Linked DNA regions of Homo sapiens: regions 1, 2, 4, 5, 6 and 7 are each linked to region 3. Evidence: promoter capture Hi-C in 16 types of primary human blood cells and fetal thymus (Javierre and others, 2016). All regions are on one chromosome and are shown on one strand. The core of a region is centred on a gene start or on the middle of the fragment in contact, and the rest is flanking DNA. Distances in the headings are between cores, read along the strand shown.

Region 1 (3,325 bases), core at 237-2,736, 1.5 Mb after region 3:
TGTTTCAGACTTCCCAGCTCCCGTATATTAGGTGGAGCCAAGTTCTTGCTGCAGCATACGGGCACGCTTTAAAATTTTCAAATCATTTTTTAAAAGCTACAAGCTTGACAGCTTTGGGTTTTTATGGCTACTTGTTTTCTGAAGTTCACAGAACTTTATCATTTGGATCACACACTTAAAAAAATCACTTGCAAAAATCTCTTTAAAGATGAATATGCTTCCTCTTCAAGAGAAACAGACTAGCGGGTAGAAGAAAAAGGACCCGTCTAGAGTATTAATAAATAGACTGATATTCACACAATGGATTAAATGGATTAAAGTCCATCCCACAGATGAACTGTTATATTAATAGAATCCAAATATACAGTTACATCCTCGACCCTGAAAGCAGTTTAAACGGGTGAAATTCACCCAGTGCTCACTTGAAATGAGTACTCTAAAGTTTAAAGCACCTATAAACTGCCCTCAGGATTCAATCATTTTTCCATTCCTTCCGGCATTATATACTTTGATGTTTTAATGTTATTAGCCCACAATACACACCAGTTTCAGAAACTCAGTTTTTGTCCTCTAAGGGCTTTTAGTCCTCCCAAAAAAAGAATAGGGCAAAAGCAAGGAAGATCATGAATCTGGTTTTCTAAAAGCATTATTACAAGACTGCTTTATAAAATTGTAATCCCCAGCTGCAGAGTTCCGCAGATGGCTTGAAAGTGTCTTACATGCAAATAAATAAAAACAAAAGGCCACTTATGCGAGCAGAACACAGCGTGCTCGATAGTCATCTTAAACCGAGCAGGTAGGTACTTTATCAGAGGCAGACAAGGGAAACGTCACTTATTTAGAGTTCACCGCACGCCTGGATAAAAGTCCTCACTAACAAAATCCCTGCCTTTGTGGATTCTGTGTCGGAAAGGGAAACGATAAAGAATACGGTTTGTGACAGCACTACTCTCAGGAGACGAAGGAGAGATGCTAAGATCTTGGAAAGGAGAGAGAATAGGAAGAGTCGGAGGGGAGATCTCCTCTCAGTAAAACGGCACCCACAGCAGTCAGACTTCAGCTACGAGCAAAATCGAGTCCGTGCACCTCAAAAAAGAGAGGGAGGCAGGGAAAACTTTCCCTCGCCTCTCCCCATCCTTCCCTCCTCCTCGCAGGAGAGCACATTAGCTGAGGTGCTGGCGGGGCCGGGCCGGGGACCCCATCCCTCGCCCCGGACGCAGCGCCCGCAGGGACTGCCCGGGAGCCCGAGCGAGGGAGGCGGGAGGTACAGGAGTAACGGGGCACTCCCGGCCCGGCCTGCGGGGAAGGGAAGCAGGGGCAGGGCCGAGGGGGAAGAGGCCTCCGCGAGCTCGACCCCGCGCCCACACGCTACCTGCGAGGTCAGCTGCTGCCGCGCCGTCCCGCGGGACCGCAGGGATCTCCGAAGCTCCAATGGGCGCAGAAGTGCGAGCGAGCGGCGGTGCCCACCGGCAGCGAAGAGGAGGAGCGCCAGGGCGCCGGGCCCGCCGGGTCACGTGGCCCCGGCCGCCTCACGTGACCCGGTGCAGCGCGCGCCCGGGACGCTACCCAGCCGAGCATCCCGCACCGCCCCGGCCCCGGCCCCGGCCGAAACCCTGCTCTTCGGGCCCTACAACCCGACTTCTTTAGAAGCCGATTGGCCGTCTCAGGCCCGCCCCGAGGCCCTGCCACTGGAGTGTCCCCATGAAATCCGGTGGCTGCTGCCGGGACTTAGAGGCTTTTGTGTCTGAGGAACCAGGAACGCGCGAGGCACGGGCTCCTGCTCTGCTCCCCGAGATGGCTTGGCTGTGGGGAGGGTCGGCCTACCACCCCAGAGACCTAGGACGGAAAAGCGACCGAGAAACTTGGCTCCCTGCCCACTCTAGAGCGCGTCTGGCCCCGGGGCACCACCCAGGTGGTGCTGCCTGGGAGGAAAGGCGGCGGAGCTGGGACTAGTTTGTTTTTACTGGAGACGCGCCTCCCTCCCTCCCCGCCCCTCACTTCCTGATTGAAAGTACCTGAGGCAGGCCAGGGACTAGGGAAGGTGGCAGCTGGACAAAGGTATGAAGGAAGGACGAGATGAGGCACAGGTCCTGGTATTGGAAAGAGGCAGAGGTACCTCGGAAGCATGCCATAGAGGTTAGACGGGACCTAAGAGGGCATCTGGTCCAACCGGATTCGTGTTACCAGCGAGTAAACTGAGGCCAGGAGAGGGACTGCTACGAGCTGCTCCAGCCTATCACCTATAAAGACTACAGTCCCTTTGTAAAATACCATACAGCTCTCGGAGAACTCCCAGTTGGCGCTGCAGGATAAAATCCAAACTTGTTGGCATAGCATTCCAGCCACTTGTTCACTTACCTTTCCCATTTGAGCTCCTAGGAATAAACAGAAAAACATTTCATTTTCTAAATATCACCAGATAACTTCACTTTTGGTAACTTGAATTATTAAAAAAGTCCTACCGTCCCTCATCTCTTGCCACTTCCCCAACATTACTGGAGGCTCTGGCTACAAATAATTTGTTTTCCTTGACTACTCAACTTTCTTTGGATTATTTACTTTTTCTCTAAGTTTCTTTACTCCTTTTTGCTTTGTTCATTCTTTTGTCTGTATCTGAAATGTCCTGAATCACCACCTCCCCCACTTAAAGAAAACCAGGGCCAATGATTAAAAAAAAAAAAAAAGGTATTAAGAAACTAATGCAATAAGAGAATTGAGCTTAGTTCTGTATCTATTCTGAGGTCTCGCTCCTGTTGCACTAGTTCCTGAATAAAATGTTTTTACCACTTCAACTACTGTTTGGCTCTGGTTTTCTTCAACAGCCTCCAAAGTACACATCAGTTTCCTACTCATCTTTCAAAATCCAGGTCAAATGCCGCCTACTCTTGTCTTCCCAGCATCCTCTTCCCTGATTTTTTAGCAATTGAAGTTCATCCAGACAGTGTCAGCTGCAACTTCTTCCCTGATTTCCAGAATACTATATATATTCTGATACACCTCACACTGCCCAGAAATAGACTGCGCATTTCCTGTAAAAGGTGAATTGTCTATTGCTGTCTTCTCCCTTAGATTATAAACTCTTTGAAACAGGATTCTTCTGGGTTTAGAACAGCGCCTGGCATGTGATAGACCCTTAATACTCACTGAATGAAGTGGCTTGCCCAAAGTAGTGGCAGTTGAGTGAATTTACTAGAAGAGGCCTGTTTTGCTCAAAGAAACTAAAATCAGTTTCTTTTGGTTGCAACCCGATCAAAAGAACTTGTGTAAACATGTCTGAGAGAAAAACGAGGGCATGGGGTGTGAGCAATCAAATATGTCCTGAGCC
Region 2 (3,044 bases), core at 418-2,917, 1.2 Mb before region 3:
GAGCAGATGAGAACTGCCTCATCACCCCCTGGCTGCTGCAGGTGGAGACTACTAATCCCTTTCGCTGTTAGGCCAGTCGCTGAGAACCAGAAAGTCACTGAAATGGAAGACCATGTTAATTGTACAATTTTCTTCAAGTTTAATGCCATTAAAATTTCATAAAATTAAAACCATGCAGGATCACTGAAAAAATAGATGAATAAAACTCCATATAAACTTCAGTCACACTCTACCTGTGTGCAAACACAGTCTTTTTTTTCTTCTTTTTTTTTTTTTTGAGACAGGGTCAAACTCTGTGGCCCAGATTGGAGTGCAGTGGCCTGATCTCGGCTCACTGCAATCATCTCGGCCCCCGGGCTCAGGTGATCCTCCCGCCTCAGCCTCTGGAGTAGTTGGGACCACAGGTGGCACCACCATGCCCAGGTAATTTTTTGTAGAGGAGGTTTTGCCATGCTGCCTAGGCTGGGTCTCTTTTCCTTCATAAAAATTCACATGGCTTGCCTAGGTAAGGATTTCTATTAAACTCTGGGGAAAATTTTTTAAAAAAAATATAGCATCTATAAACGCCAAACACCTTCACATGGCTCTAAATATGGTCTATAATTTGGTCCCAGATTATTTTTCTGGTCTCACTCCCTATTTTGTTAGTTAAACTCAACTATGCATAATTCTAGGATGGCCTGGATGTTGCTATCGGGTGGCTTTACTCAATGCCACGGTACAATGGTTTCAGAGCAGGTTTTGGGGCCAGACCCTCCGGGTTCAAACCCTGACTTCACCACTTATTACTACATGACACTGGGCAAGCTAATCTATGCCTCATTTGCCCATCTGCAAAATGGGTATACAGTAATATATATCAATTTGATAGGGTTGCTCTGGGAATTAAATGAGTTAATTCACGTAGTGCTTAAAATGCTGCTTCTACCACACACACAAACATGAGCTATTATTTTTCCTGCAACCTGAATGCCCTCTCCTTCCAGGTGCGCTCAATCCCATTTCCCTAATGACCCCATCAGAAATGACTTCCAGTCCCCCACAGCGCTCTGAGAGCATTTTACGACCCGAACAGATTTTGTCAAACTCCAAAGACACGTGCTCCCCTCGGCACCATCAGGTGAGTGCTCCTGACCGCGCCATTGGCTCGTGCCCCGACGCGGACGCTGCCTAGAGCAGCAGGTCCACACTCCCCCGAACCAGGCGCCGGCGGCCGCTAGTAACGCGTTGAGGCCAGCTCCCTCCTTAAAATGCGTACACATCTACTTCACATTTTCGCGCGGTGGCTGCGGGTCTAGGAAAGTCTTTCTGAACAGGAAAAAGCTGTACAAATGTAGCGGGCAGTAGGTAAACGGGCGCTCGCCCCGGGTTACACTAGGTTGGAGGCTCAGAGAAGGAAAAGGGATTAGAGGCGAGGCTCCGGGTCACGGGAAAAGGTCCTTGGCCTCCTGTCATGGATGGTGGCGCCCAAGGCCCAGGGTCGCCGTCTCTGCGCTCGTGCCTGCGGATACCTGCACCGCAGGACTCGGCGTCCGCCCCGATCACGCCTAGCCGTGCCGCAGCCGCAGGAAGGCTGACAACGTCCAGGCCTCTACCCGAACCCAGTCTTACCTACGGTGGCGGAGTGACCAGAAGAAGCGGGCCGAAGTAAAAGGCGGGGCTCAAGATGGCCGCCGGGGCCTCGCCTCAGCCCCGCCCATATGATGCCCCGCCCCTCCGGTCCCACTCACTCTCGCTTTTAACTCCGAGAACCCGCTCTTCTCCAGTTCAGTCTCCATGGCCCCGCCGCCTTTGCACATTGCACTTCCCGGCAGCCTCCGCGTGGGCGCCCCCTCCAACTCCTGCCTTCGCCCGCGTTTCTGCTCTGTGTGGTTACTAGGACCAACGAGGAGGGCGTTAGGTTAGTCCCTGTCACCTTGTCGGGGATCAGTCTGCTGTGCGTGCTCAGACTCTTCCCAGAGCCAGCAGCAAGAACCCGAGGCATTAATAAACTTGAGATGTAGCTTCGCTTAACTCGTGCAGAGGGTTTCCGTGTCACTTATGTAGAAACTAGGGCCTAATTTCAACTCCCTCAACTCCTCTGTCCCAAGACTATCCACGTCACCTACTTGGTAGCTTGAGTTAAACAAGAAACCTTTGAAATCTCCAGTGGCCGACACGCAGTGGGAACTCCATCAGTTTTCTGTTTTCTCCCTTCTTCCCTCAATAAAAATTAAGTTGAACTGACTAAGATTTGCTAGTTGATAATTTACAGCAAATCTTTCCTTTTGGTCTCTCTGATTTAAGCAAACTGTTGAGTGTACTTTGCCTCTTGAGAAATTAAATCTGATTACAACAGAGCTAAGTATTTTTCAGCAACGGTTAGACTGACATTGTAAATACACAATCTGATAGTTGGGGCTGGCCTCATGGGCCTGCAACCTGTGCTATTACCCGGCCCCCAGAACAGAAGGACGCTACATTTTCTCTCAGTAAGTGTTGAACCAGGGCCCCACGTTTGTGTCTGGAATTGGGCCCTGCAAATTGTGTAGCTATGGGAGCTGACTTAAGTATGGATGAGCTGCCACACAAGAGATTACCTGCCAGAATCTATTGTGTGGCTCAGGCCCATTTTGCCATAGTGATCTTTGGACTAAATTAACCTGTGGACTGAACCTGTGGATCAATTGGAACTTAGACTGAAAATAATGTTTCATCAAAATAATGTTTTTATTTTGAGAAAGCATTGAAGTAAATTGTTTTAAACTTTCTTTTTACTATCTTTAAGTATAAATCATTGAAAAGGGGATTTTCTTCAGTTTCAAAACTGAAACAGAATAAATACCTAAATTGCAAGTTCTTTATAACTGATGTTTGAACAAAGAGAAATAATTGATTAAATGATATATTTGCCTAATAAGTGGACTGCTGTGAGGTGCAGACTAGCCAAAGAACTGTAAGTGTGAAGTTCTTTACTAAAGGGTTCTTGTGTGAATACAATGTGAGAATAAGCAGAACTAAAATTTCTTTTACCCAGCATAAATAAAATGTTAATAGATCCACAA
Region 3 (3,346 bases), core at 28-2,527:
AGTATCGGATTTTATTAATTTTTTTCTGCATCTATTGAGATGATTATATGTATTTCCTTTCTCCCTCTGTTAATATGCTGAATTACATTGGCTTTTCAAATATTAAGCCAACCTAGTATTTCTGGGATTAATCTCATTGTTCAATATATTATCCTTTTTATATACTACCATTTTTTGAGAAGATATTGTAAGTACCTTTGTAATGAATGTGAATGTTGATAGTGAGGAGAGATGCTGTGAAAAGCTTAATACCCATTTAGTATAACATGGAGAGTAAGCATATTACTTAGAAATAAGTAGGCAAATATCAGAAATACAGTTCAAAGAGTTAAAAGTGATTGTTTCTGAAAGTAGGAGGGTCAGGTTGCTCTTGTTGCGGTTTTTGCACCATTTTACTTCTTAAAATTATAGCTATAGGTCAGGCGCAGTGGTTCACGCCTGTTATCCCAGCACTCTGGTAGGCCCAAGTGGAAGGACTGCTTGAGGACAGGAGTTGGAGATCAGCCTCGACAAAAGACCGACAGCCCACCTCCACAAAAAAAAAAAAAAGAAAGAAAATTAGCTAGCTTGGTGAAAATTAAAATAAAATAAAATTACCAGTATGTGCACATTACTTTGGTAGAAGTAAAAATAATGAGAAAGAGAGAAAACCCTCCCAGTAACTAGTCATTTGTTTTTATGATTCAGCTGGTTTGTATTTTGCATGGTGCATGGTGTGCAAACATCTGAAAATGTCTGTTTTCCACTGTTTGTAACTAACTCTTCCCAGCATGATTTATCAATTAGCCTTTATTTCCTCCCATGACTTATGAATATACCTTAAGCATAGTTGTTTATAATGGGATGTTTCTAAACGACCTATCCTTATCCTGGTACCACGCTGATTTGAGCTACAGGGCAAATGGGTGCACCATGGTGGGCGAGGTCATTCACGGAAAAAAGAATGTGCAGTGGTGCCGAGGTTGGTAAGAGCAGGCGGCTTGTACATGTAAATGCATGGTTTGCAGGAATCTGGGAGTGGATAGGCTGACGGGTGATGAATATTCAAAGCACAACTGTAAGCGACTTTAGTTACAGCGAAACTCTAAGGCACGCTGCCCTTCGGAAGGAAACACGGCATTCCCCAACCTGATAGCCCTCCGCGACGCATTACGCACCGCGGACAGCTGGAGAGGCCGAGGCGCTCTCGCTTTGATTTCGGCGCCTCCGCCCTCGCGGGGAGAGATTGGCTGCGGCCGCGGGACGGGGTAGTGAGCGCGTCACTTCCTGCCGCTGCCAGGCGCGTCCTCCCGCGCGCTATGACGGCCAGCGCACAGCCGCGCGGGCGGCGGCCAGGAGTCGGAGTCGGAGTCGTGGTGACCAGCTGCAAGCATCCGCGTTGCGTCCTCCTGGGGAAGAGGAAAGGCTCGGTTGGAGCTGGCAGTTTCCAACTCCCTGGAGGTCATCTGGAGTTCGGGTGAGCAGCCGCGGACGCGAGGAAACCGGGGCGTGCGCAGAGGGACGAACTCACGCCGTGCTTGCTTCCGTGTGCCGTGCGTGAGAACGTCCGCGCTGACGCTGCGTCCTTTCTTGCGCGTTCCCTCGGTTCCTCCCCTCGACTTCTGGGCGACGTAGGATCGCGCCCAGGAGGGGGCGCTGTGCTGGGTCAGGCGAGGTCTTTGCTAGCTGGGTCTTTCCGGCTGCGCCCCTGCTGGGTGGTGGTTGGGAGTTCGTCTGTGAGGTGTGTTTCTCACAGCTTACACACAAAAGGAGGAAAGCAGGTGTGTGTAAACCTCCAGCAGCCCGATATTGTCAGCTAAGACATTGCACCGTTTCCATGTGATTGATTGATTGATCGATTGATTGATTTGAGACTGTGTCTCGCTCTGTAGCCCAGGCCAGAGTGCAGTGGTGCTATCTCCAGTCACTGCAACCTCCGCCTCCTGGGTTCAAGCGATTTTTGTGTCTCAGCCTCCTGGTAGCTGGGATTACAGGCGCCCGCTACCACGCCGTGCTAATTTTTGTATTTTTAGTAGAGACGGGGTTTCGCCATGTTGGCCAGGCTGGTCTCGAACTCCTGACCTCAGGTGATCCACCCGTGAGGTCAATGACCATAGCCAACATTGAGCTCTAATGGGCTTTTTGTTAAAGGCTGGATAATATGCCAAGCTCTTTGCATGTATACTTTCATTTGATCTTTACATAACTGGCATACTCAGTGGGCTAAATTTGATGGGAGAACAAACAGGAAATGGTTTTATTTTCTCCTTCCACTGCCTTCAAACATGATTTTTTCTTTCCCTCTTCAGTGACGTTTCCTGCAAATTCTATAGTTTTCTTGTCACTTGGTTATAAAAATAAATCACATTTGGGTCAGTATGATTCACTTCCAAGCATTTAAAAGTCCAATCCAATTTAAACCTTCAGTGTCACTTCCAGTTTCTAATCCCTCCCCTGCAGTGCATAAAGGAGGTGTGAGCCATTGTTCTGCTTTTCTGTATCCTCCTCCTCTTCTCACCTGGCTGTCTCTGAGTTTCCTTCTTTCTCCAGTGTGTTGGAGGAGGAGAGAGAGCAAGCCATTCAGGTGACTGATGCTGCTCTGATCCATCCATTGGTGTCCTCTGGGCATGATATCCACATGTGTGCTTTCTCAGGGTATGTTTGTCAGTTGTTGGGAAGTCCCACAGAGATTTTCCTGACATAGGTGACGGGCTTTCTGTGATGCTGGCCCACCTCCTAGCTCTTGCTTTTAGCACATCACCCCACATTTTCTTTCTACTGGGATCTCCTATTTGATTACCCAGCAGTCTCTTGTGGCATCTGCTTGGCCCAAAGGAAACACACAATGGGAATGATATTTCCACTGCTGCCCTTTTTCCTTGCTCTACCTCTGTATTCATCTGCATCTGGAAACTCCGAGGGACACATTTCAGATTTACCCAAGAGCTTTCACCCTTGTAGCACACCTTTTCTGATGCACTGGGGTAGGCCTGTGAGTTTCTGCAGCTCAGGATGTCTTTAGCAGGGGAGTGACACACTGAGTATCTCCTTCTTGAGTCACTCCCAATCTTGTGACTGATTCTCTTGGAATGTTCCTCACCTGTCTTGGGGGGGCAGAGTTGGCCCCTTGTAGTCTGGAAGGGAAATGCTCCTACTAGGCTGAAAACTCCAAACTTTCCTCTGTCTCAAACATCTCCTTTTTTTTTTTTTTTTTTTTTTTTTGAGACGGAGTCTCGCTCTGTCACCCAGGCTGGAGTGCAGTGGCGGGATCTCGGCTCACTGCAAGCTCCGCCTCCCGGGTTCACGCCATTCTCCTGCCTCAGCCTCCCAAGTAGCTGGGACTACAGGCGCCCGCCACTACGCCCGG
Region 4 (3,356 bases), core at 816-3,315, 1.5 Mb before region 3:
GCATGGGGAGAGAGTTGCAAAGATGAATAGGTCCCTATTTCATGGAATTTACAGTTTAGTAATCTGTAGATGGGTAAACAAACCACAATGAGTAGGTCAATCTAACAGAGGGACTGATCATTTGTTAAAAAGCAAATCGTGGGCTCATATGCAATCCATTATTTTCTTTAAAGAAGAATTAGTGGTCTTTTAAAAAAATATGTATGCTTCCTATGATGCATCACAACGACTCTTAGTCTGAACTAAATTTGCAGTCAGCCAGAAGATGTCCCAAATCATGTCCTGACTGCTGATCACACAGACTACCACCTGGTTTCAGCTGAAGATTCTTTTAATTGGATTTTTTTCTGTGTTTCTGTTTTTCACTGGATTTTGTTTTTCTCTGTTCCTCTCCCTGGAGGAAAGTGGAAATTTGGTTACTTTTTTGTGATGGAAGTATACTTTCATTTATTATTATTGTCGTTATTATTATGAATTTTGAAGCCGGACTTTTAAAAGCCTGGAAGGCTGCGGCGAATGGCATGTGAGAGGGGAGGTTTGCGGGAGGATACCAGCAGGTGGCGCGTGTCTCCTCCGGGCAGATTAGAATGCTTTGCTCAGGGCCAAGAATCCCGCAGGAATTAAGGGCAACTATCTGTGCAGTCAATTCAAGTGACACAGATCATGCCATACTTAAGTGCCGAGTCCATGAAGTCACCAGTTCCAGCCTGTTGTCTAGGCCATCAAACTTATGTATTACCACTTAAAAAACCAGCTCCCCTACTCCAAGGGTTGCATTACTTTCGTGCTTGACACCCCGACAACCCCGCACCCACCCCCCGACTCATTTTCCCCAAGCCAAGTCGCTCATAGGGGACAATCAAGCCTTAAGAATAGAGCAAAAATAAAGGCCCTGGAAAGTTGGACATGAAGCTTTAACTTCAGGAAAGGAATGGTATTCTATTAATCGTCCAGCTGGTCTGCCCTTAGGGTGTCAGATGTTCTCTGTCGCCCCTGGTGTGCCAGCATTGGCCTGGGTGCCACTGGGTGGCTGATGGCAGAATGTGAATTCACTTGCAAGCGGACATGTTCGTTTCCATGCCCCAAAGCGGGAAGAAGAAGGGCACAAGGAGACTTCGATGGTTCTTTCAGCTCAGACTCGAGCTGTGACTGATTTGCTGTTTGGGGTCACTGGCTTTCTAGCCTCTCCTGGCACCACCCAATTTCGGGGAGCAGCCAGCTCATCTTTCTCCTACGACAATGTCTTCTGTCCCCCATAAACACTGCCCTCATTTTGAGTTTTTCTTTCCTATGTCTGTAGCTTTCTTCTGCCGCTCAGCAAACACTCTGTCCCACTCGTATTCGTCCCTTGGCGCTGGCGTCTGGCCCAGGGGTACACTGTGAAGGAGGGCAACCCTAGATTCTGAGGGCCCTAGCTCGAATCTAGCGCCCCTCTAACTGCAGGGGTGACCTTAGATACATTTATTAACTTCCTCTGTAGACTCAGGGGAACAACTTTGGCACTCCTGGGGTCCCTGGATTAATGAGGTAACTTACGTAGACTCCCTAAACAAGCGTCTGGTTCATTGTAAGCGCCCAAATGCCAGGGGGCATCTGCAGGGATGACCCCATAGTGAATGAAAACTGCCTCTTGGGGATCTCTGGGTTAAACGGCCAGAATAAATCGCAGAATTGAGAGAACCCTCTCCTGCCCCAAACCTCACTGTACTGTAAATCCCATTCATTGCCTCCCGCCGTTTTATCCGTGTTCTCAGACCACCCCCCTATCCCCGCAACCTCCAGTCCCCTAAAGCCTCCTGGGCGGCAAAAGGACGCCCAGAGAGAGGTTCGGCGCCTCAGTTGCCCCGGAGCAGACGTCCAGCCCCGCCGTGTACCCGATTGCGGGGCGGATCGCGGCAAGGCGGCGGCGGCCGGCAGAATAGGCGCGGAGGAAGGCTCAGGCGGGGCAGACTGCGTGGGGGAAGGAGGAGGAGAGAGCAGACGGCGGAGGAGGGCAGAGCAGCCGGGGGGAGGGCGCAGGGGCGGGAGGAGACACATGCGCGCTGCCGCCGCCGCCGCCGCCGCCGCAGTCCTTAGCTTCCCGGGGACAGGAAACCTTCAAGACCGAGCTGCCACGGCCGCCTCCCCGCCCGCCCCCCATTCTACGCGCCTGCCCACACCCTCCTCCCCTCCTTCCAGCGCCTTTCGGTGGAGCACTGCGGCACTCAGCCCGAGCTGCCGTTTTCCCCTCGCGGGGAACGCTGTGACCCCCCCGCAGGAGCGGCGGGGCGGGGTGGGGGGGCCCGGGAGAAGATGGCGACGCCGGGAAGCGAACCCCAACCTTTCGTCCCGGCCCTTTCGGTAGCTACTCTGCACCCACTTCATCATCCCCACCACCACCACCACCACCATCAGCACCACGGAGGAACCGGCGCCCCCGGCGGGGCGGGTGGTGGCGGCGGTGGCAGCGGGGGCTTCAACCTGCCCTTGAACCGGGGTCTGGAGCGCGCGCTTGAGGAGGCGGCCAACTCCGGGGGGCTGAACCTGAGCGCCAGGAAATTGAAGGAATTTCCCCGTACCGCAGCCCCCGGGCACGACCTCTCGGACACGGTGCAGGCAGGTGAGTGAGGGCCGAGGGGCGGGCAGGGGTGTGGGTGCTGTCTGGGTGTCTGTCGTGCGTTCCCTAACGCGGTGGACAGTCGGAGATCTTGTCTTGCTGGGGGAGGGAGGGTCCATCGGCCCGTTGTCTCCCGAAGAAGGGACTCGCGTGGGCGCGGAAGAAGCGGGCCCTGGAGAGGGCACGGGGGCCCTGCCTGGTCCGGCGATGCAGTGCCAGGAGGGCAGGGGTGCGCCGGGCCTCTGCGCCTGAGAGCGAGGGGTCTCCGGCTCTCCACCCTGTGGCTGCCGCGCCAGGGAAGTAACCGCGGGGCTGGGACTTGCAGGCGCGCCGCGTGCGCGCAGTGTAAGTGGGAGGTTTCAGGCGGCTGTGTCGGCTTCCTGGGCCCCGCGCAGGGCTGGGAACTCCAGCGCGGACAGCGGCGTCGGCGCCTCCAACCAGTTCAAGCCGTCTTTGCATCGAGGCGTAGCCCATCCTGGTGGGGAAACCCAGACAAAGGTGGCACGCCCTCGGCCGAGCCAGGGGCATCGGCGCAGTGCCGCGAGCCCCCTCGGCGACATCGCCGAGCGATCGGGCAACTCGGTGCCGCCTGTGAGGTGCCCAAGTTTCCTCTCCCTGCGCTTGTGCGGGAAAAGAGCCGCCGGGCTTGTAGTGAATCCCAGTCGGCTGCCGCTTCGGAAGCGATCGGCCCTCTTCCTTCCGTGCCTTTTGCTCACCGCCCACACAGTTTGGGTCCTACCACCGAGGCTACCTGGTTCTC
Region 5 (3,360 bases), core at 87-2,586, 2.0 Mb before region 3:
GAAACTGTCATCTGTTATAATCTAAATAGTTCATTAAGAAAATAAAAATTATTTGAAAATCTATAGATTGTATTCACAAAACGCTCCAATATATTGTACTAAAGCCAGTAATTTCAAATGTTACAGAACTAGACCCCGCTAACTGGCACCATATACCCATAGACTGAACTGCATAAGTATTTATTCTCCAACGGTATCGCGGACTTCGAAAACTTGAGGTGTAAAGATGTTTTCCAAATTTTTAAAACTACTTTAAAAATCCAAAAATCTTAAGAGACTTCATACTCCCATAATTTTCAAAGTAGTTCGAATTACCTGAAAGCCCCATAGTATAACCAAATACCTTAAGACTACCCTTCACAAACAACATCTTACCAACATAATTCAAGTATTATCAACTCTAAATAATTTTCAAACCACATAAATTGCGTTAGCCTATTACAGAGAGATAATGCCGCCAAACAGACTCTCTTCTTTCTATTCCACTTTCCCCCGTTTCTGACAGTTGCCAAAACTACCTACCTAAGGCTTGTGAAGATAAAGTAGCACTCAATTCCCAGGACCTAAATCGTTATCACTGCTGAGGGAAAAAAAAAAAAACAAGACCAATCACAAGTAAGATGTTTTTCTCTAACAGATCTGGAATGAGTATAGAGGAAGATTCTAAATTTAAGCCCAAATTGCTGCACCCTTCCATCGCACACAAATACGAACACCATACAAGGGTTCCCGTGCTTACATCAAATGGTAACGAGGGGTACAGCCTATTGTCTGAGTCTACTTATCGCCCTTAGACAAATGCCAGAATCATAATCAGAGTGAGAAATTACGCCTGAGCACAGGGGGCTATTGCAGAGTTAAGGGTGGGATGCTCAAGGAAAGCTCAAAATCCCAGTGACTCAAGCAAAGACGGGGGGGGGTAACCCGGGCCTCCGCATTACGGGTCCGCTCAATGCCTTCCCCAGATACCCACACCAATTCACAGAACGCTTACTTCCTCCCCAAGCTCCCTTCGCAAGTGCAGTCCGGAGGCACCACCGCCGCCGCCGCTCCGAGGAGCGGGGGAGGCGACTCTGTCCCCGCGCCTGGACCCAGGAGGACGACGACGAGGAGAAAGCGATGCGCGCGCGGCTCCCGGGAACCGGCTCTTGGCTAGCGAGGAGCCCCCGGGATGGCTGAGAAGCAGAACCAACCCGCCCGCCGCCTCTCCAGGGTCAAGCGAAACTGGGTCGCAGGAAGAAAAATAACGAAGAGATTGTAGATTAAGAAAAGGCAACAAAAACACTACCAGGCCGCTAGGAGGACCGCCTCAAAATGCCGCCGGAAGTCAGAGGTTTGCCCTGTTCCTCTGTAGACCCAGGCAGCTTCCGGCCGTCAGATTAGTCGTCAGTGCGCAGACACCACCCTTCGTGGACACGCCCTCTAGGCGTAAGGTTCCATGCGAGCGGTAAGAGTGCGGCGGGACTTGGAAATCGAATCTGTGCTCTGTGAGAGATCCTAGGAAAGGAAACTGGGAGCCCGGGAGAACTAAAATTCCCAATTAAAAGTGAATTTAAGTGAGTTTTCTCTTTTTATTACATAATTCCTTACCATAAACAGCTGTTGTAAATGCGCAAAATGCGGCATTTGTTGACAGTACCTAGAGCCACTCATTCATTCGTTCAACAGTGTTTATTGAGCAGCTGAGCTGGAATGAGAGGCTATGTTTGTCGTTTTTGACACCCCTCCCCTTTCTGGGCCATCGCCTAATTACCGTGGAGCAAACGGAATGCATGGTTGTATTTCTAAAGGCACAAGCAGAAATTTATTGAAAATTTGGAGCAGAAATCTTTAATGTACTTCTGACCACCCTTCCTTTTGTTGAGTAGGATCCAATGATCAGCGTGAGATGATCATTGATTAAACTTGCTTGAGATGGCTAGTCAAACGTCGAAACTTGCTTGAGATGGCTAGTCAAACGTCGAAAATCAAAGAAAAAGTAGGTAACTAGACTTTTACAATTTTTTTTAAAGGGTAAAAAGACATGAACCCTAGTCTGCCTTAATGGCAAAGTAGCACTTATTAGGTTCTCTGACAGAACCAAGGAATAGGAAAATCTTTTATCAAAACTACGGATAAAACTTAAAAATAATTTGATACAATGATTTGGTCTTGCTGGAATCAGTAAATTAAAATACGGAAGCAGAATGATAAAATCAGGGGCATTAAACATTCCTAATGACATGCCAAGCTATTTTAGAGACAGCGGCAAAAGCTTCTCTACAGGTGGGTTTGATGTAACGCTCCGGCAGCAAGAATCCGTATGTGCCCGTATCTCGAAGTTCAATTGTAAACGAATATTTGATGCCCAAATCATAGATCCAATCGTCCCCACCTCCAGGAGCTAGGTCTAAAAGAAGAAGAAAGAAATTGTTGAAATACAGACGTTTCAAATTAATTTACAAACTGGGAATTGTTTGATTTAAATGTTTATTTGTTTGTATACCTTTAGATTTTTTTCAGTTTTTAACTAATATAAACAACTTTACAATGAGTACCCTTGTTTATACATAATTGCTTCTTTGTCTCTTTAGAATATTCTTCCCTAGAATAGATTTGCTAGTCTAAGGCTCTGTACTTTTTGCAATTACGGCATGTTCCCAAATGGACGTCAAAAGAACTGAATTCATTTATACTTCCACAAGCAGGGTATGAATTTGCCCATTTCCCCTTCCCATACCATCAATAGGAATTATGAATTCTGATAATTTTATGGGCGAAAAATAATATCCAACTGTCTTAATTTATGTTTTTTGATTATCAGTGAGTTGCACATTTGTTTGGCATATTTATTGGCTATCTTTATATTTCCTATCAATTGTCCTTCCTCATTTGTCTACTTGGTTCATTTTATCAATTGCTTATAAAAACGACATTAGTGTTATTAGCTTTGTTTGGCATGTAGACCTTTTTTTCTCCTTTCATTCATTTCTCCTTTCACAAGAATTTTTTCTCCTTACTGAGATTTCAACTTGGTTTATGCAGGGTTTTCATATGAAAATATATGCTGTACCTGGAATTTACTTTGGTGAAAGACATGTTAATAATCCAATTAATTTTTTTCTAGGTAACTTGTTAGGTTTTCCAACCGCATTAATTGAATAATCTGACTTTTTTTGGGGGGGTGCTAAATTGAGTCCAGGTTTATGGCAAAGTCTGACCCAAAATTTTAATTTATAATTTTAGCATCTATCTAATACAGTTTGGGAAGCATCTCATGAAAGCTACAATTGCCAGAAGACTTGTTACAGTTTAATGCATGTTAACTAAAATGTGTACATATTTTAGTGTTCATGATAAATACAGTTTCGACCTTTTTTG
Region 6 (3,317 bases), core at 153-2,652, 1.5 Mb after region 3:
GCTGGGGAACACCCTAATGTCAGTCTCTTTATAAAGGGCCTTTCATTTTGGCCTGGCAAGAAATACTCTTTCATCCTCCTGCATGGAGGGCAAAAAAAAATTTAAAAATTGGCTGCTAGGGTCTGTCTGCTCACTTCCCTGTTTTGCAGACCCCACACTCTTCTGCAATTCATTTCATAGTTGTCAAGACTATACAAATTGTCCTTTTTAATGTTCTCTCTTCTGCTATCCCTAGTTGGCAGTCTTCCTCTTTACAACCTGCTGAAAGTGGAAGACCTCCAGTTTTCCTTTAATTCCTCAGCAAACCACCAACTATTATATGTCTTTTTTCCAGAACAACTTATTTTTTAACTATAATTATATGCATTTATGTTAGATTCACTGAAAACCTCATCTTGTATGGTGCTCTGTACCCTATGGGTGCTAAATAAAGGCTTGCTACTGGCAACTGGATTTAGGATCGGCTAATTCTGCGTCCTTTTAAGATATGCTTATTTAAGCCAAACTCGGTATGATAATTTTTTTTTTTTTTTTTTTTTTTTTGAGAGGGAGTCTGGCTCTGTCGCCTAGGCAGGAGTGCAGTGGCGCGATCTTGGCTCACTGCAACCCCCGCCTCCCGGGTTCAAGCGATTCTCCTGCCTCAGACTCCCGAGTAGCTGGGATTACAGGCGCCCGCCACCAAGCCCGGCTAATTTTTGTATTTTTAGTAGAGACGGGGTTTCACCATGTTGACCAGGCTGGTCTCGAACTCCTGACCTCGTGATTCGCCCACCTCGGCCTCCCAAAGTCCTGGAACTACAGGCGTGAGCCACCGCGCCCACCCGGCCAGTATGATAGTTTTTAGGAGGAACCCTCAGGAGAGTGATTGTTTCTCCCGCTGTGTTGTGGGGGGTGGAGTAGGGAAGCCTGGCGTTTGGGGTTTTTTTGTTTGTTTGTTTTTTGTGTGTGTTTGTTTGTTTGTTTGTTTTGAGACGGAGTCCCGCTCTGTAGCCCAGGCTGGAGTGTAGTGGCGCGATCTCGGCTCACTGCAAGCCCCGCCTCCCGATTCAAGCGATTCTCATGCCTCAGTGTCTGGAGTAGCTGGGATTACAGGCACCCGCCACCATGCCCAGCTAATTTTTGTATTTTTAGTAGAGACGGGGTTTCACCATGTTGGTTAGGCTGGTGTTGAACTCCTGACCTCGTGATCCGCCCTCCTCGGCCTCCCAAAGTGCTGGGATTACAGGCGTGAGCCACTGCTCCCGGCGTTTGGGTTTTTTAAGCTATTCAAATTAAGACTAGACTGGAATCTGGAGCAGTGTGTGTGACAACCCCTCTCTGCACACCCAACTTTCCCCGGGCCGGCTAGTGACTCAAAGCGACAGCCCAGATTTAAGAAAACGAAACCTAGTGCAGCTGGGGCACTTCCGGGATCTCGCTATCCGGCCGCCACCCGCAGCTGCAGCACAGTCATGGCCCAGGCGTCGCCGCCCCGGCCCGAGAGGGTGCTCGGCGCCAGCAGCCCGGAGGCCCGGCCCGCGCAGGAGGCGCTCCTCCTTCCCACCGGTGTGTACCGCGGGGGCGGGCGGGCGGGCGGGCGGGGCTGGGCAGCGACGGGCCCGGTCAAGGGGCCTGCCTTCCGGTCGTGGCCGCATGGGGGCCCGACCTGCCCCTACTCCGGGCCGGGGCCCTAGACGCCGGGGCGGCGCTGGACGAACTTGGCTCACCACTCGCGTGCCTGTTGGTGGGGGAGGGGGCCAGAGGACAGGGCGCGGCCCAGGCCAGTTCCACAGGTGGCTCTGACTGCCCATGGTTTCGCGCGAGTGGTGGGCACGCTTCGGTTTACCTCCCCCGCGGGTGACAGCCCAGTGCTTCCACCACAACCGATGTCAACTCTCCTAGCGCCCCTCCGCTCACCGGTAAACCAGGACAGTGGAGGGGCGCCCTGATGCGGTGAGGCAGGGGGCGGCCCTGAGGGAAGAGCTGGGTCTCACGTTCACGGAGGACGTGACTGGAACCCGTCTCCCCTTCTCCAGTCGTTCCAGTCCTCCCCGGCCCTCTACTTGAGTGGGTGGGTCTTCTGATGGGTTCCTGCCCTTGCGTGTGTGTATAGCTCCAAACGGTGTGCCAGGCTCAGGGCAAGGTCCTGAGCATACAAAGATGAGTTAGGCAGACCCTGCCCTAGAGACTCTACTAGGCAACTTTAATGAGGAGGTCAGAACCACAGAGGTACAGATGAGAGACTCCTGACTCCCAGTCTTCAGGGAAAGCTTTTTGAGGAGAGGATGGCTGGGCTTACCCTTTTTTTTTTTTTTTTTTTTTGAGAGGAGTTTCACTCTTGTTGCCCAGGCTGGAGTGCAAAGGCGCTATCTCGGCCCACTGCAACCTCTGCCTCCCGGGTTCAAGCGATTCTCCTGCCTCAGCCTCCCGAGTGGATGGGATTACAGGCATGTGCCACCACGCCCAGCTAATTTTGTATTTTTAGTAGAGAGGGTTTCTCCATGTTTCATGGGCTTACCTTTAAAGGGCAAGACTCAGCCAAAGGTGGAAAAGTTGAAGGGGTGTTCCCAGCAGAGAGGATGACACAAAGGCACCAAACCACAAAACGTCACACGTAAACATCATACGTGGCAACCACAAGCCAATCAGTTGGATATTTCATTCATTGGTATACATATGGACTGTAAGGTAAGTCACGGGAGATGCGCTTCCATCCTGACCTCTTCCTCAAACTCCAGACTGGTATAACCAACTTCTTCCATTTCTGAAATGATCTCAAACTGAGTATGTCCCAAAGAGAATTCTTGTTTCCTCCACTGTATTCAGGTACTCCAAACCTGCTCAACCACCAGCCCATTCCATTCGCCCAGGTGCTCCTTGCAAAAACCTTAGTGGCTCCTCAGGGCCTCTCTTTCCTCCGGACACCCCTTCTAATGCATCAGTCGGGCCAGCCAGTTCTGTGTTCAGCCTGACTGTATCTGGAGCCTGACTGCTTCTCACCACTTCCATTACTGCCACCCAAGCCTACGCCATCATGATCTTCTGTCTGGACTATTGCTTTCCTGGCTTCTATTCTAGCCTTTAATACAGGCAGGCCTGCAGAGCGGCCAAAATGCTTTTTGAAAAACAAAAAGCAAATGTGATTCTCCTACTCAAAACCCACCAATAGTCTCCCATGACTCTCAGAACAATCTATGAGCCTGGCCTGCAGTTTACCCCATGTCCTTATCTGATTTGACTCCTGCCCATCTTAATGACTCTGCTACCCTGCTACCTTGTAGGTCCTCTAAGCCACCAAAGCTGTCCCTGCCTCAGGATCTTTCCATTTGCTATTCTCT
Region 7 (3,211 bases), core at 644-3,143, 1.2 Mb after region 3:
ACTCTGTCGCCCAGGCTGGAGTGCAGTGGTGCAATCTTGGCTCACTGCAACCTCTGCCTCCCGGGTTCAAGTGATTCTCCTGCCTAAGCCTCCTGAGTAGGTGGGACTACAGGTACATGCCACCACGCCTGGCTAATTTTTTGTATTTTTAGTAGAGACGGGGTTTCGCCATGTTGCCCAGGCTGATCTCAAACTCCTGACCTCATGATCCGCCCGCCTTGGCCTCCCAAAGTGCTGGGATTACAGGTGTGAGCCACCATGCCTGGCCTGTTTTCAGTTTTTGACTATTAAAAATAAAGCCACCATGACATTCATGTACAGAGTTTTGTTTGAACATAAGTTTTGGTTTGTCTAGGATAAATACCCAGGAGTGTGATTGCTGGGTGATATGATAAGCATATGTGCAACTTTATAAGAAACTGTCAAACTGTTTTCTAGAGTGGTTATGCCATTTTATAGTCCTACCAGCAATGTTTGAGAGATCCGGTTGCTCTGCATCCTCACTAGCATTTAGTGCTGTCAGTACTTGTTATTTTAGCCATTTAAATAGGTGTGTAGTAGAATCTCATTGTGGTTTTAATATACATTTCCCTAATGGCCAATGACACTGAACACTGTTTTACATGTTTATTTGCCATCTGTATATCTTCTTTGGTGAAATGACTATTCAAGTCTTTGATCCATTTTCTAACTGGACTGTTTACTTACTCTGAGTTTATATGGTTCTTTATATATTCTGGATATGAGTCCTTTGTTGGATACATGCTTTGCAAATATTTTCTCCTAGTCCATGGCCTGTCTTTAAACCTTAGTGTTAATTGCCATGAAGGCACTGTCAACAAAGTCTACACTTCAGGAAAGGTGCAGAATGGAGTTCTCTGGATATAGTCAAATCACCTGAAGAGCTTTACCCTCAGAACAGGCGAACTAGAAAAAATTCTACAAGCCAAAGAAATAAATAGCAAGCTGAAAGATAGATCTGAAGAAATTAGCCAGAATGTGGCTCAGAGAAACAAAATGATGCAATATTTTAAAAATAATAATTTAGAACCTCAGAAGGTTTAACCTATGCCTAATAGGAATTCCAGGAGGAGAGTCTAGAGTAATGTTGTCCAATACAGTAGTAGCCAATAGCCACATGTCACTACTTAAAATGTAAATTAATTAAAACTAAATGAAGTTAAAAATGCAGTTCCTTGGTTGTACTGGCCACATTTCAGATGCTCAATAGCCACATGTGGCTGGTGGCTACCATATTGGACAGTGCAGATATAGAATACTACAGGAAATCCTACTGGACAGTGCTGATCTAGGTCATAAAACAAGTCTGAACAAATTTCAAAGAACTGGTATGATACAGATGTTTTGTGGAAATAAACTAGACATTAGAAATTAAAAACAAAATAACTCCTACTGCCTCCTCTCACCTTTTTCCCCATTACAATTCCACCTCTTAATGTCTTCATGTTCTTGATGAGAAGCAGAACGTCCCTACTGTGTTCCATGGCACCAAGTTCCCCAGAACCCGCCAGTCTCTGATGACAGAACATCCTGGACCGCCCAGCTCCACACCCCAACCCAAGAAGTTCTCTAAAACACTGACCATGACAGCCTGGGGTAGGTTTCCACTTTAACATTCTGACCAAAATTCTCAACTCGATGCAGTCAGAGTCTGCGCAACCTGGGACCTCGAGCCAAGAAATCCTCAAGTGACCTTACTTGGCAAAACCAACAAAACAACCAAATACAGGTCTCAAGCGATTTACAGCTCGGTGCTTAACTCGGTCACCGGCCGAGGGGCAGCCCTCTGGCGCCAAAGCCCCGCCTCTCTATGACGTCACACGAGGAGCCCTGAAGTGGCGGTCAAGCTTGAGGCGTCATCTGGCTGCGCCTAGTGGGCCGTTGCCTTACAGTTGCTGAGAGGAGGCGAGAGGCGGGGGCGCTAGGGCCGAGATCATGTCTGACTGGGAGAGGTTTCCTTGGCAGCAGAGGACGCTAGGTTTGGGATGAAAGAAGCTGGGCAGATGCAAAATCTGGAGAGCGCGAGGGCCGGGCGGTCAGTCAGCACCCAGACTGGCAGCATGACCGGTGAGTGTCCGGGACCCTGCTCCCGCCACCCTACCTTTCGCTCTGCCCTGTGCGTCTCCCGTCATTGAACTCCAGATTCCTTGTCTGAGCCTCTTTGCCTCCCCTGCTGCTTTTGGATGTCTCCTGCCCGCCCTCTGCGTGTCCCCTCCGCGGTCGCCAGGACCAATCGGCTCGGTCGCACTGGCTTTTGAAGTCTCGCTTTTTACCCCTGTTAGCTACTTCTCACAGGACCTAGAGCTGGGGCCTCTGAGGTCAAAGAGCCTGAACATTTCCAAACGGCGCTTTTGCCTTGATTTCCAAATTAACCGCACGTGACGCTTTCCTGTATTTCGACTGCTTTACCGTCGAAGGTCAGCGCATTTTTCGGGTTGTGTTCTAATCGCTTTCCTTTTAGCAACGCCCCATCACAGTCCAAAGAAAAGCTTGCACCACGACGACGTCAGATGCGAAGACTTTTCACAGCTTGCTTTGGGTTGTCCCCCTCAGCTATGTGTATTAGCTGTACCGTTTTTTCCTGCAGGGTGAGGGCTGGAGAAAGAAGGCTCAACTTTTTAAGTGGAGAAGGAGGTAGCCACGACTAAGGCTGAAGCGTCTACTGCTAAGATACCTCTGACTCTCTTGTCCCCTATCTTTTTCTGTGCCTCTTGCGAAAGCAGCTGGGCTTAGGCTGCAGCACCTAAGTGGCATTGAGATTGGCTCCCTTTTTCACCATTAGTAACAAAGTTTAAAGTGTTTGTCGTCTCTTTTGTAGGTCAGATACCAAGGCTTTCTAAAGTCAACCTTTTCACTCTGCTCAGCCTCTGGATGGAGCTCTTTCCAGCAGAAGCCCAGCGGCAAAAATCTCAGGTATAATTTGTTTCATAGTTTTTCCCCTTAGAAAAGCAGTGGTTTAAAATCTGAGTTTATTGCTCCAGTTTCTGTCATACCTAAAACCAAACTTAACAAGGCTTAAGATTTAAAAAATATCTTTATTGATTAACATGACACTTTATAATTCCCAGCCGTAATAAGTCATCTTCCATTCTAAAAATACTTTCTGAGAATACCATGTTTATCGGGTACTAATGGTATTCATATGTCAGTTCGGCTAATAAGATTATTGTCTATACCACATAATTTCCCC

The links. The method cuts DNA at HindIII sites, captures the fragments that hold promoters and counts their contacts. A CHiCAGO score of 5 or more calls a contact.
Region 1: a contact is called between the fragment with the promoter of RCBTB1 here and the fragment with the promoter of NUDT15 in region 3, in 7 of 17 cell types (fetal thymus, total CD4 T cells, non-activated CD4 T cells and 4 more). The highest score is 9.5, in fetal thymus.
Region 2: the fragment with the promoter of ESD here is called in contact with the fragment with the promoter of NUDT15 in region 3 in 16 of 17 cell types (M2 macrophages, erythroblasts, M0 macrophages and 13 more); the score reaches 31.5 in M2 macrophages.
Region 4: a contact is called between the fragment with the promoter of LRCH1 here and the fragment with the promoter of NUDT15 in region 3, in 14 of 17 cell types (naive CD8 T cells, activated CD4 T cells, erythroblasts and 11 more). The highest score is 18.5, in naive CD8 T cells.
Region 5: a contact is called between the fragment with the promoter of ZC3H13 here and the fragment with the promoter of NUDT15 in region 3, in 9 of 17 cell types (total B cells, naive CD8 T cells, fetal thymus and 6 more). The highest score is 15.1, in total B cells.
Region 6: the fragment with the promoter of PHF11 here is called in contact with the fragment with the promoter of NUDT15 in region 3 in 10 of 17 cell types (non-activated CD4 T cells, activated CD4 T cells, neutrophils and 7 more); the score reaches 21.8 in non-activated CD4 T cells.
Region 7: a contact is called between the fragment with the promoter of CDADC1 here and the fragment with the promoter of NUDT15 in region 3, in 11 of 17 cell types (total CD8 T cells, monocytes, non-activated CD4 T cells and 8 more). The highest score is 13.9, in total CD8 T cells.

Annotation. Positions count from the first base shown.
Region 1 is chr13:49,584,072-49,587,396 of GRCh38, forward strand. It overlaps RCBTB1 (RCC1 and BTB domain containing protein 1), which reads right to left and starts at 1,487. Exons shown (of 13, transcript NM_018191.4): 1 at 1,373-1,487. RefSeq lists a silencer at 1,011-1,720. The HindIII fragment of the contact is 4,185 bases long and covers 102-3,325 here.
Region 2 is chr13:46,795,494-46,798,537 of GRCh38, forward strand. ESD (esterase D) reads right to left here and starts at 1,668. Exons shown (of 10, transcript NM_001984.2): 1 at 1,612-1,668. RefSeq lists enhancers at 803-1,404, 1,536-1,585 and a silencer at 1,176-1,225. The HindIII fragment of the contact is 4,378 bases long and covers 1-3,044 here.
Region 3 is chr13:48,036,449-48,039,794 of GRCh38, forward strand. It overlaps NUDT15 (nudix hydrolase 15), which reads left to right and starts at 1,278. Exons shown (of 3, transcript NM_018283.4): 1 at 1,278-1,456. The coding sequence starts at 1,299. It overlaps LOC124903172 (a long non-coding RNA gene), which reads right to left and starts at 1,544. Exons shown (of 2, transcript XR_007063788.1): 1 at 1,158-1,544. RefSeq lists enhancers at 406-1,282, 1,283-2,158, 1,325-1,564, 1,615-1,774. The HindIII fragment of the contact is 6,950 bases long and covers 243-3,346 here.
Region 4 is chr13:46,551,105-46,554,460 of GRCh38, forward strand. LRCH1 (leucine rich repeats and calponin homology domain containing 1) reads left to right here and starts at 2,066. Exons shown (of 20, transcript NM_001164211.2): 1 at 2,066-2,599. The coding sequence starts at 2,293. RefSeq lists silencers at 2,010-2,199, 2,260-2,319 and enhancers at 2,523-3,223, 2,880-3,199. The HindIII fragment of the contact is 3,547 bases long and covers 911-3,356 here.
Region 5 is chr13:46,051,410-46,054,769 of GRCh38, forward strand. It overlaps ZC3H13 (zinc finger CCCH-type containing 13), which reads right to left and starts at 1,337. Exons shown (of 19, transcript NM_001330564.2): 1 at 995-1,337. It overlaps CPB2 (carboxypeptidase B2), which reads right to left. Exons shown (of 11, transcript NM_001872.5): 11 at 1,777-2,389. The coding sequence ends at 2,205. CPB2-AS1 (CPB2 antisense RNA 1) reads left to right here and starts at 1,439. Exons shown (of 3, transcript NR_046227.1): 1 at 1,439-1,556. RefSeq lists enhancers at 521-1,057, 1,058-1,593, 1,123-1,292, 1,303-1,502. The HindIII fragment of the contact is 2,282 bases long and covers 1-2,252 here.
Region 6 is chr13:49,494,551-49,497,867 of GRCh38, forward strand. It overlaps PHF11 (PHD finger protein 11), which reads left to right and starts at 1,403. Exons shown (of 10, transcript NM_001040443.3): 1 at 1,403-1,545. The coding sequence starts at 1,452. All of the region lies in intron 12 of SETDB2-PHF11 (SETDB2-PHF11 readthrough), which reads left to right. It overlaps SETDB2 (SET domain bifurcated histone lysine methyltransferase 2), which reads left to right. Exons shown (of 14, transcript NM_001160308.3): 14 at 1-453. RefSeq lists enhancers at 209-894, 1,205-1,444, 1,935-1,984 and a silencer at 1,465-1,744. The HindIII fragment of the contact is 2,314 bases long and covers 1-2,247 here.
Region 7 is chr13:49,246,032-49,249,242 of GRCh38, forward strand. It overlaps CDADC1 (cytidine and dCMP deaminase domain containing 1), which reads left to right and starts at 1,894. Exons shown (of 10, transcript NM_030911.4): 1 at 1,894-2,088; 2 at 2,840-2,934. The coding sequence starts at 2,007. It overlaps LOC105370203 (a long non-coding RNA gene), which reads right to left and starts at 1,809. Exons shown (of 2, transcript NR_135318.1): 1 at 1,604-1,809. RefSeq lists enhancers at 1,755-2,317, 1,787-2,016. The HindIII fragment of the contact is 642 bases long and covers 1,867-2,508 here.